2 separate regions of the Homo sapiens genome follow, and region 2 is linked to region 1. Evidence: promoter capture Hi-C in 16 types of primary human blood cells and fetal thymus (Javierre and others, 2016). All regions are on one chromosome and are shown on one strand. Each heading gives the region's core, a stretch centred on a gene start or on the middle of the fragment in contact. The rest is flanking DNA. Distances are from core to core; before and after follow the strand shown. Region 1 holds the start of JUN (Jun proto-oncogene, AP-1 transcription factor subunit). Region 2 overlaps FGGY (FGGY carbohydrate kinase domain containing).

What was found. Contacts are between HindIII fragments. The CHiCAGO score rates a contact against its expected background, and 5 or more counts as called.
Region 2: a contact is called between a fragment that was not itself captured here and the fragment with the promoter of JUN in region 1, in 11 of 17 cell types (total B cells, total CD4 T cells, naive CD8 T cells and 8 more). The highest score is 8.7, in total B cells.

The regions. Positions count from the first base shown.
Region 1 is chr1:58,781,855-58,786,146 of GRCh38, forward strand. JUN (Jun proto-oncogene, AP-1 transcription factor subunit) reads right to left here and starts at 2,193. Exons shown (of 1, transcript NM_002228.4): 1 at 1-2,193. The coding sequence starts at 1,216. The coding sequence ends at 221. It overlaps JUN-DT (JUN divergent transcript), which reads left to right and starts at 3,297. Exons shown (of 2, transcript NR_108106.1): 1 at 3,297-3,451. RefSeq lists silencers at 1-165, 553-632 and enhancers at 303-482, 1,891-2,638, 2,153-2,412, 2,639-3,384. The HindIII fragment of the contact is 7,855 bases long and covers 1-4,292 here.
Region 2 is chr1:59,304,852-59,309,149 of GRCh38, forward strand. The region is part of intron 1 of FGGY (FGGY carbohydrate kinase domain containing); the gene reads left to right. Among named protein-coding and RNA genes, the nearest start is that of FGGY, 9.9 kb to the left of the region's middle. The HindIII fragment of the contact is 4,416 bases long and covers 300-4,298 here.

The sequences.
Region 1 (4,292 bases), core at 943-3,442:
GCCGCTCCCTGGCTCCACGCCAAGGGAGGGCGCGCCAAGTCCTTCCCACTCGTGCACACTGGGGGCGCCGTCAGGACGCAACCCAGTCCAACTTGGATACCCTTGGCTTTAGTTCTCGGACACTTCTTTTTTCTCTCCGTCGCAACTTGTCAAGTTCTCAAGTCTGTCTCTCTGTGTTATTTTTTTTCTTCGTTGCCCCTCAGCCCCCGACGGTCTCTCTTCAAAATGTTTGCAACTGCTGCGTTAGCATGAGTTGGCACCCACTGTTAACGTGGTTCATGACTTTCTGTTTAAGCTGTGCCACCTGTTCCCTGAGCATGTTGGCCGTGGACGCCAGCTCCGAGTTCTGAGCTTTCAAGGTTTTCACTTTTTCCTCCAGCCGGGCGATTCTCTCCAGCTTCCTTTTTCGGCACTTGGAGGCAGCGATGCGGTTCCTCATGCGCTTCCTCTCCGCCTTGATCCGCTCCTGGGACTCCATGTCGATGGGGGACAGGGGCGGTGTCTCGCCGGGCATCTCGGGCACTGTCTGAGGCTCCTCCTTCAGGGCCTGCAGCCGCGGGTGCTGCACGGGCATCTGCTGGGGCAGGTGGTGCGGCGGCTGCTGCTGCTGCTGGGGTTGCGCGGGAAAGGCCAGGCCGGCCGCGCCGTAGGAGGGCGCCCCGCCGCCGCTGCTCAGCGCGCCTGGGTTGAAGTTGCTGAGGTTTGCGTAGACCGGCGGCTCGCTGTGCAGGCTGGCGCTGAAGCCGCCGCTGCCGCTGCCCCCTGCCACCGAGGCTACCGCGGGAGCCACCATGCCTGCCCCGTTGACCGGCTGCGCCGCCGACGTGACGCTGGGCAGCGTGTTCTGGCTGTGCAGTTCGGCCAGGGCGCGCACGAAGCCCTCGGCGAAGCCCTCCTGCTCATCTGTCACGTTCTTGGGGCACAGGAACTGGGTGGGGGTCGGCGTGGTGGTGATGTGCCCGTTGCTGGACTGGATTATCAGGCGCTCCAGCTCGGGCGACGCCAGCTTGAGCAGCCCCACGTCGGGCGAGGTGAGGAGGTCCGAGTTCTTGGCGCGGAGGTGCGGCTTCAGGCTCCCCACTGGGTCGGCCAGGTTCAGGGTCATGCTCTGTTTCAGGATCTTGGGGTTACTGTAGCCATAAGGTCCGCTCTCGGACGGGAGGAACGAGGCGTTGAGGGCATCGTCATAGAAGGTCGTTTCCATCTTTGCAGTCATAGAACAGTCCGTCACTTCACGTGAGGTTAGTTTGGGCTGCGCGCACAAGTTTCGGGGCCGCAACAGGGCTGTGGCAAGCGGGGGACACCCGCGCCCCCCGGAGCCTTTGACAGGGAAAGTTTCTCTAAGAGCGCACGCACCCGCTGGCTGTCGTCCCCGCTGCGCCCTCCTCACCAGCTCGCTCCAGGGAGCGCAGGGTTAATTAAGATGCCTCCCGCACTCTTACTTGTCGACTCGCGCGCGCTACCCGGCTTTGAAAAGTCGCGGTCACTCACTGAGCGCTCTTCGTGCGCAGCGGTTCCTCGGAGTCCGCAGGCGAACTCACTTCCCAGAGCAGCGGCTCTCCCCGCGGAGCGGATCAGTGCGGACCCTGCAGTGGCCGGCCGGCGGCGGGTCTTGGCCGCCCGGACTCCGACGACTTGTCCCCTCCTCCGCTGCTAGGGGGAGGGGGCGCCCGGCAGCCGCGGCTCGCGCTCGCCCAAGTTCAACAACCGGTGCGAGCGAAGCTGAGCGCACGTCCTTCTTCTCTTGCGTGGCTCTCCGCCGCCTTCTGGTCTTTACCGCCGTGGAGAAGCCTAAGACGCAGGAAAGGCTTGCAAAAGTTGGCTCCGGGACTCTGCCACTTGTCTCCGGTCCTCCCAGCCGGGAAAGTTCTTTGCTGCTGCAGCCGCTCGCCGACTTCCCCCGGCGGGCGCGTGGGTACCGCTGCTTTCCGCCGCTGTCAACAGCGCCTGGGCAGCAGGGCTCTCCTCCCGGGGGCGGCTGGAGACCAGGCTCTCTGGACACTCCCGAAACACCAGCCCGGGAGCCACAGGCGCTAGCTCTGGGCAGTTAGAGAGAAGGTGAAAAGAAAATAAGATTTGCAGTTCGGACTATACTGCCGACCTGGCTGGCTGGCTGTGTCTGTCTGTCTGCCTGACTCCGCGCACCTCCACTCCCGCCTCGCTGCTTCAGCCACACTCAGTGCAACTCTGAGCCCTTATCCAGCCCGAGCTCAACACTTATCTGCTACCAGTCAACCCCTAAAAATAGCCCATGATGTCACCCCAAGGCCTTCCCATTGGCTCGCGTCGCTCTCAGGGGGGCGGGCCCGCCCGTCACCATGGAGACTCCACCCTAGAAGATTCTTCTCTGGGCCCGCGGAGGCTCACGGGATGAGGTAATGCTCCGCTGCCCTCCTACAGTCGGGCCCTTCTTTCTCCTACCCTCCCCCCTGCCGCACGCCTCTCGGCCCTCTCTTCCCCGGTCCCCTCCCCGGGCCGTTTTTCCCGGCCCGCCCGGTGCATTGTGGGCTGACGTCTTGGGGTTTGACTGTCTAGTGACGGTGGCTGCCGCGAGCGGGCGGACGCTCGCAACCTCTGATGGAGGGGGGCTCAAGTTCACGGCTGCGGACGGGGATGCGGGGGATGCAGGGACCCGGGAGGCCAGGGAACCTGGCCAGTTGTTTTGGGCCAGGGGTGCGGGCGAGGGGTGGTTGTTGTTTCCCCACTTGTGGGGCCCGAAGTCATCCACCGGCGGCCGCCACCGCGCGGGGCTGGAGGCTGAGAATCCAAGTACGCTGCCACCCCCCCGCACTTCCGGGGGGGCGGGAATACCGCCCTTAAGGTGGCTCTGTGAAGTCCCAGGTGGGGGCGAGCCTAAGGGGACTTAAGTTTAGGGGCGGTCTCCCGAGAGTCGGCCCCCCACGTTGAGAACACTCCGAAGTTTGCATCTCGGTCAAGTTCAGGAGCGACGGTCCGCGGGGTCGTCTGGCTGCTCGTAGAAGCCGAGAGATTTGTATTGCCCGAAACTGGACGCTCAGCTGAGTCTCCGTTGCACCCCACTTCATCCTCCGGGACCGTGGGGGAAAGGGCGCGGGGGTTCACAGCTTTGCCTCGGAGGGGCAGTTTTTATAGTGGGCGCAATTGGTGGGTAACAGGGTCCAGATGGGAACAAGCGTGTAGGCGATCCGAAACTCGGGGAACCCCGGTGTTAGTCTACTCCCCCTCCCGCCCCCGGACAACACGCACACGCTTAACACAACACGCACAACATAACGCGCGCGCGCGCGCACACACACACTCCATCCGCGCCGAGTTGCTTCCGGGAAAACAAGCCCAGAAGGCGGCGGACACTCGCATAAAGTCACGCAGTAGTACTCGGAGCCCGGGGTAGAACCTGGACTTCAAATCTCTGCACTCCCGGCCGGGTGGTGGGCGCATATCCTGGGTAGCCTCTAGGAAGCGCTAGACACATGTAAGTGGTTCCTTTTCCGCGGTTATTTTATTCTCCCCCCGCCCCCCACCCCTTAGGGACGAAAGTGTGTGGTGGAAAGAATCCCGAAGTCGGGAATCCTGGTTCTTTCGTGGCCAGGCTACCACAGTGTGAAGCAAGCAAATCACGGAACTCCTCCGAGCTTCATTTCCCTCATCTGCAGGTGGGGCCGGTGCCGTCCACCTCACTGGGCTGCCAGGAGTTAGTGTGACAGGGTCGCCTGCAGCACTAGGGAGGTGGTGGCCAAACAGCCCGCTTCCCTCCCCTGCCTCGCAGTTTCCATCCTCGCAGAGCCTGGATAGGATGCCAGGATATAAGAGTGCGATTTGGCAGGACCAGGTGTACTTTCCTGTGAGAAGCATCGAGGGGAGGAGGGGAGGGGGAACCGGGTTAGAAGTCAGATCTTTCCCAAGCCTCTGTCTAAAACTGGGGCTTGAAGTTGGACCTGCAGCAGTTTAAGTTCCTAGGTTCTAAATTCAGACTTCGCTGCTTCTGAACTTGGAATTCAGCCTTGGGTTCATTGCCCCCAGCCCTAAGGTATTTGCGGCTTTGAGTGTTCAGAAACCAACAGCAGCTGGTATCAGTGGGAAACCTGCCAACTTTTCTTCACTCCGGGCACTCACCTAGCTTTCACTGATCTGCAGAGGGTAACTGAAAGCCTACTGTGAGCCAGGCACTGAGCTGGGGAGGGGGTGGGGTAGGTAGGTATACAGTGATGACAAGATCCAGTTGCTTCCTCAAGGAGAGAACATTCTCCTCTGTCTGTTGCCCTGAATCATTTTCTGTTGTATTCAGGGAGTTGGTGTTCTAAATATTTTTTAAT
Region 2 (4,298 bases), core at 1,258-3,757, 520 kb after region 1:
TTTTGGGGTAGTTCATTGTTAGTGAATAGAAATGCGGCTGCTTTTTGTTATGTTGATTTTTTATTCTACAGCTTTATTGATTTAATTTATTAGTTCTAACAGTTTTTTGGAGTCTTTGGGTGGTTTTCTATATATAATATCATGTCATCTGTAAACAGACAATGTTATCCCTTCCTTTCCAATCTGGATGCCTTTCATTTAGTTTTCTTTTGTAATTGCTCTAGCTAGGACTTCCAATACTGTGCTGAATAGTAGTGGTAAGAGTGGGCATTCTCTCTTGTTCCTGATCTTAAAGGAAAAGCTTTCGGCTTTTTGATGTTGAGTATCATATTGGCTTTGGGCTTGTCATATATAGTCTGTATAATGTTGAGGTGGATTCCTTCTATATCTAATTTGTGATAGTTTTTATTGTGAAAGTATGTTGAATTTTGTCAAATGCTTTTGCAGAATCTATTGAGATGATAGTATTTTTATCCTTTGTTCTGTGAATGTAGTGTATCACATTTATTGATTTGCATATGTTGAACCATCCTTGCATTACAAGGATAGTTACTTACTTGATCATGGTGAATGATCTTCTTAATGTGCTGTTGAATTTGGTTTGCTAGTATTTTATTGGGGATTTTTGCATCTGTGTTCATTGTGGATATTGGCCTGTAATTATCTTTTCTCATAATGTCCTTGTCTAGCTTTAGTTTAAGGGTAATGGTAATGCTGGCCTCATAAAATGAGTGTGGAAGTATTCCTTCCTCTTTAATTTTTTATAAGAGTTCAAGAAGAATTTTATTAATTGTTTAAATGCTTGGTAGAATTTATACTCTACCCAATTCCCTCTGAGTTATGAGGCTTTCTACTCTGGCTGTTATGAATAGAACTATTCCTGGCCTTATGTGAAGCCCACTGATTTGTTCTCTCTAATCCTTTTTGGTGCTTCTGCCTCAGATTGTTTTCACATATAGATGCATTAGTACGGATGATTAGTACTCTCCTGAATACTTGGGGAGTACCTTTGCAATTCTCTGGCATTCTTCTTCTGTGCAGCTCTCTCCTCTCTTGCCCAAGATTCTAGCCTTTTTGTTCTCCACAGACTTTCAGCTCTGTCTCCTCAACTCAGGGAGACTGCTGGGCTTGGCCTGTGTTCATCCTTTTTGTGCCACAATCTGCAGACATATCCCAGGGATTAAACTTGAGCCATTGAAGGACTTATCTCATTTTTTCCCATCTCTGTGTGATTACTCTGTTGCCTGATGTCCAATGTCATGAGAATCTTTGTTTTCTATTTTTTTCCCCATTGTTTTAAGCAGGGAGGTAAATATGGTTCCTGTCACTACATCTTGGCTGGAATTGGAAGCATTCAACTAGAATTTTTGAGGAAAATATAAATAAGGGACTATCTAAAGATGTGAGGAGGGGATTTTTGAGGTACTCAGATACCAATAATAAAGGGGAACTTTTACCACTTCAAGGTGCTAAGAGCATGGTGAAGGAAGTATATCAGAGGGAAAAACATAAGCTATAACTAAATTAGGATAATTTTCAATAAAAGAACTATTGAGTAAGTGAGGGCAGCCTGAATGCCTGGGTCTAGTAACAGTAAGACTGTTACATCCTTAGACCCAAAGGGGTGAGGGAAGGACTGGTTACCAGAACCCAAAAGGAGAAATCGTGTGGAGAAGCCTGCCTGGAGAGGATCTGTTATTTTAGCCCAAGAGAAGCAGCTGGCCCAGGCCAACTCTACAGGAAAAGAGGCCTGACCTTACTCTTCTCCTTCCTTTGAGGCTTCAGCTAGAGCTCTCCATTGCTCAAACCCAACTAGAAGACAGAGGATTAGAGAGTCTTGGAGATCCAGATTATTGTCCCCAGGACAGATAGCAGGGAGGGAAGGTAGAGAATGGATATGTAGTTGGGGAAGAATATACAGTGACATATGTATAGAGTGCACTTAGGAAGGATAGGAAAATCAAATAAAAATTGTTCAGGCTAAATATATTACCAGTCCCTTAACCATCTAGATTTGGGGCTGAGCTACACTGAAATCCATTGCAGATTATGCTGAGAGCTGAATAGCTTGGATTCTGCTAAACAGGCTATGGGAGAGAGATTAAGAAAGGACTCGGTTGCTGACTGGATATTGCAAGATGAAAATTGAGAAGAAGACAAAGTCTATAAAATGAAGAATGAGGCCAAGCACGGTGGCTCATGTCTGTAATCTCAGAACTTTGGGAGGCCGAGGTGGGAGGATAGCTTGAGCCCAGGAATTCGAGACCAGCCTGGCCAACATGGCAAAACACCATCTCTATAAAAAATCTAAAATTATTGTGTCATGATGGTGCATGCCTGTAGTCCCAGCTACTCGTGAGGCTGTTATGGGAGAATGGCTTGAGCCCAGGAGGTCGAGGCCACAATGAGCTATAATTGCATCACTACACTCCAGCCTGGGTGATAGAGTGAGACCCTGTCTCAAAAAAAAAAAAAAAAAAAAAAAAATCGAGTGATTTAGACAGATCAAACTCAATCTAGTTAACCAAATATTGGGATTGTAGAATTATGTGGCAGCTTTGACATTTGAATAAGGCTATTGTTAGGATCTTTAAAAAATTGTCATGTGACATAGTAGAAAGAACATAGGATTGAAATCCTTCTCTGTTATTCACTGACTCTATGACCCTGACAGGTGACCTAACTGCTCAGAACCTTGGTTTCCCATCTAAAAGTTGCAGAAAAGATTAGCAAGGCCATCTGGTAAGTCACTGGCACCACATCTTGCACAGAGTAAATGTTCATAAGAAATTTATTGATGTAAGATGAGGGTTGGCTCAAAATATAAGTAAGTCTAAAAAGCATTTGGATTCATGTGAAGCTACATATTGATAAAACACAGATAACACTAATTCTAGTGAACCCTTAAGGGAAGAATAGTGTATTTGACAAGGATTACCTCAAAATTCCCCTCAAAGACAGTTTGTGAAGAAGCCCCAGCTCCCTTTCCCTTCTCCCTTAAAAAGCAGATTATTTTTTATGTTAGTTAGAACAAACTATAGATAGTTTGTTCCTATCAAGAACAACTTATCCTTGTCAGAGATTGGATGCTGGGCTGGATGGGCCAGTGATGTGTCCCAGCATGTGTTGCATCCAGGGGGTCTCCAGGAAGGGAGAGGGAAAAGGAAGACTTCCTGTGTGCTTACCGTGTGCAGCTAGCCCAGCTTACCTCATCTCCATGCAGTGTCATGTAGAAACATGGGTGACTGAAGATCATTCTAGTTAAGTATGGTCAGTGCCTCTTAATGCTGCTGCTTCTCTTTTTATTTTAGAAAACCATGTCATGGAGGAAAATTACAGGAACTTAAAATGTATAGCATGGAGAAAAGAAGACCCAACAGGAGGTCATGAGAGTCATCTTAAAACATTTGAAAGGGTAGCCCATGTATAAGGGTAAAAAAGGCTGTTTGGATGATCCTTTGGGATAAAAATTAGGACTAGAGGGTAGGAGCTATACTAAGCACAGTTCAACTCAATACAGAGAAGGTCTTCCTTCCTATTACTGTAATAGCTGCTCATTGAGAACATTCAGACAGCACAGAGAGGGACAGGTAAATGGCCTCCAAACCTCCACTATATTTCTTTTTGCTGGATGTCATTGCAGTAAGCAGGTTTTGTGTGTGTTTCCTGAAATCTTTTATGATAGGTCTTTATACAATACAGTGGTTCTCAAACTCTAGCATCCATCGGAATCACCTGGAGGCCTTTTTAAAGCACAGACTGCTGAACCCCACCCCAGTGTTTCTGAGTCACTGGAGCTGGAAGGGGGCCTGACTTTGAATTTCTACCAAGTTCCCTGGTGATACTAATGCTGCTGCTCTTCTAGAGACCACGAATGGCCCTGTTAAAATTTGAGAAAATAAAAGTTTGAGAACCACTGTATTGCATGAAGAAAATAGAGCTTTTGCTCTATTCTTTATTAAAAAATAATACAAATGGCATCATACTGTATCATCCAAGAACTTGCTTTTTTAGTTAATAATATATAATTAGCAGCTTTCTTTTTTTCTCATTCAACAGCTACTGATGTATCAATTTTAGAAGTCCCCTATTAATAATCATTTAATTTGCTTCTAGAGTGTTTGTGGATATGTTCTTGCCTTTACAAAAAAAGGTTGTGGTGGATTTTTTTTGTATCTTTTTGATGAGTCAGTGCATAAATTCTTAGAAGATAAATTCTTAGAAGTTAAACTGTTGGGTAAAAGACTTGATTTTAAAAATGGATAGATAGTACTAAATTATTCTATCAAAGATAGAAT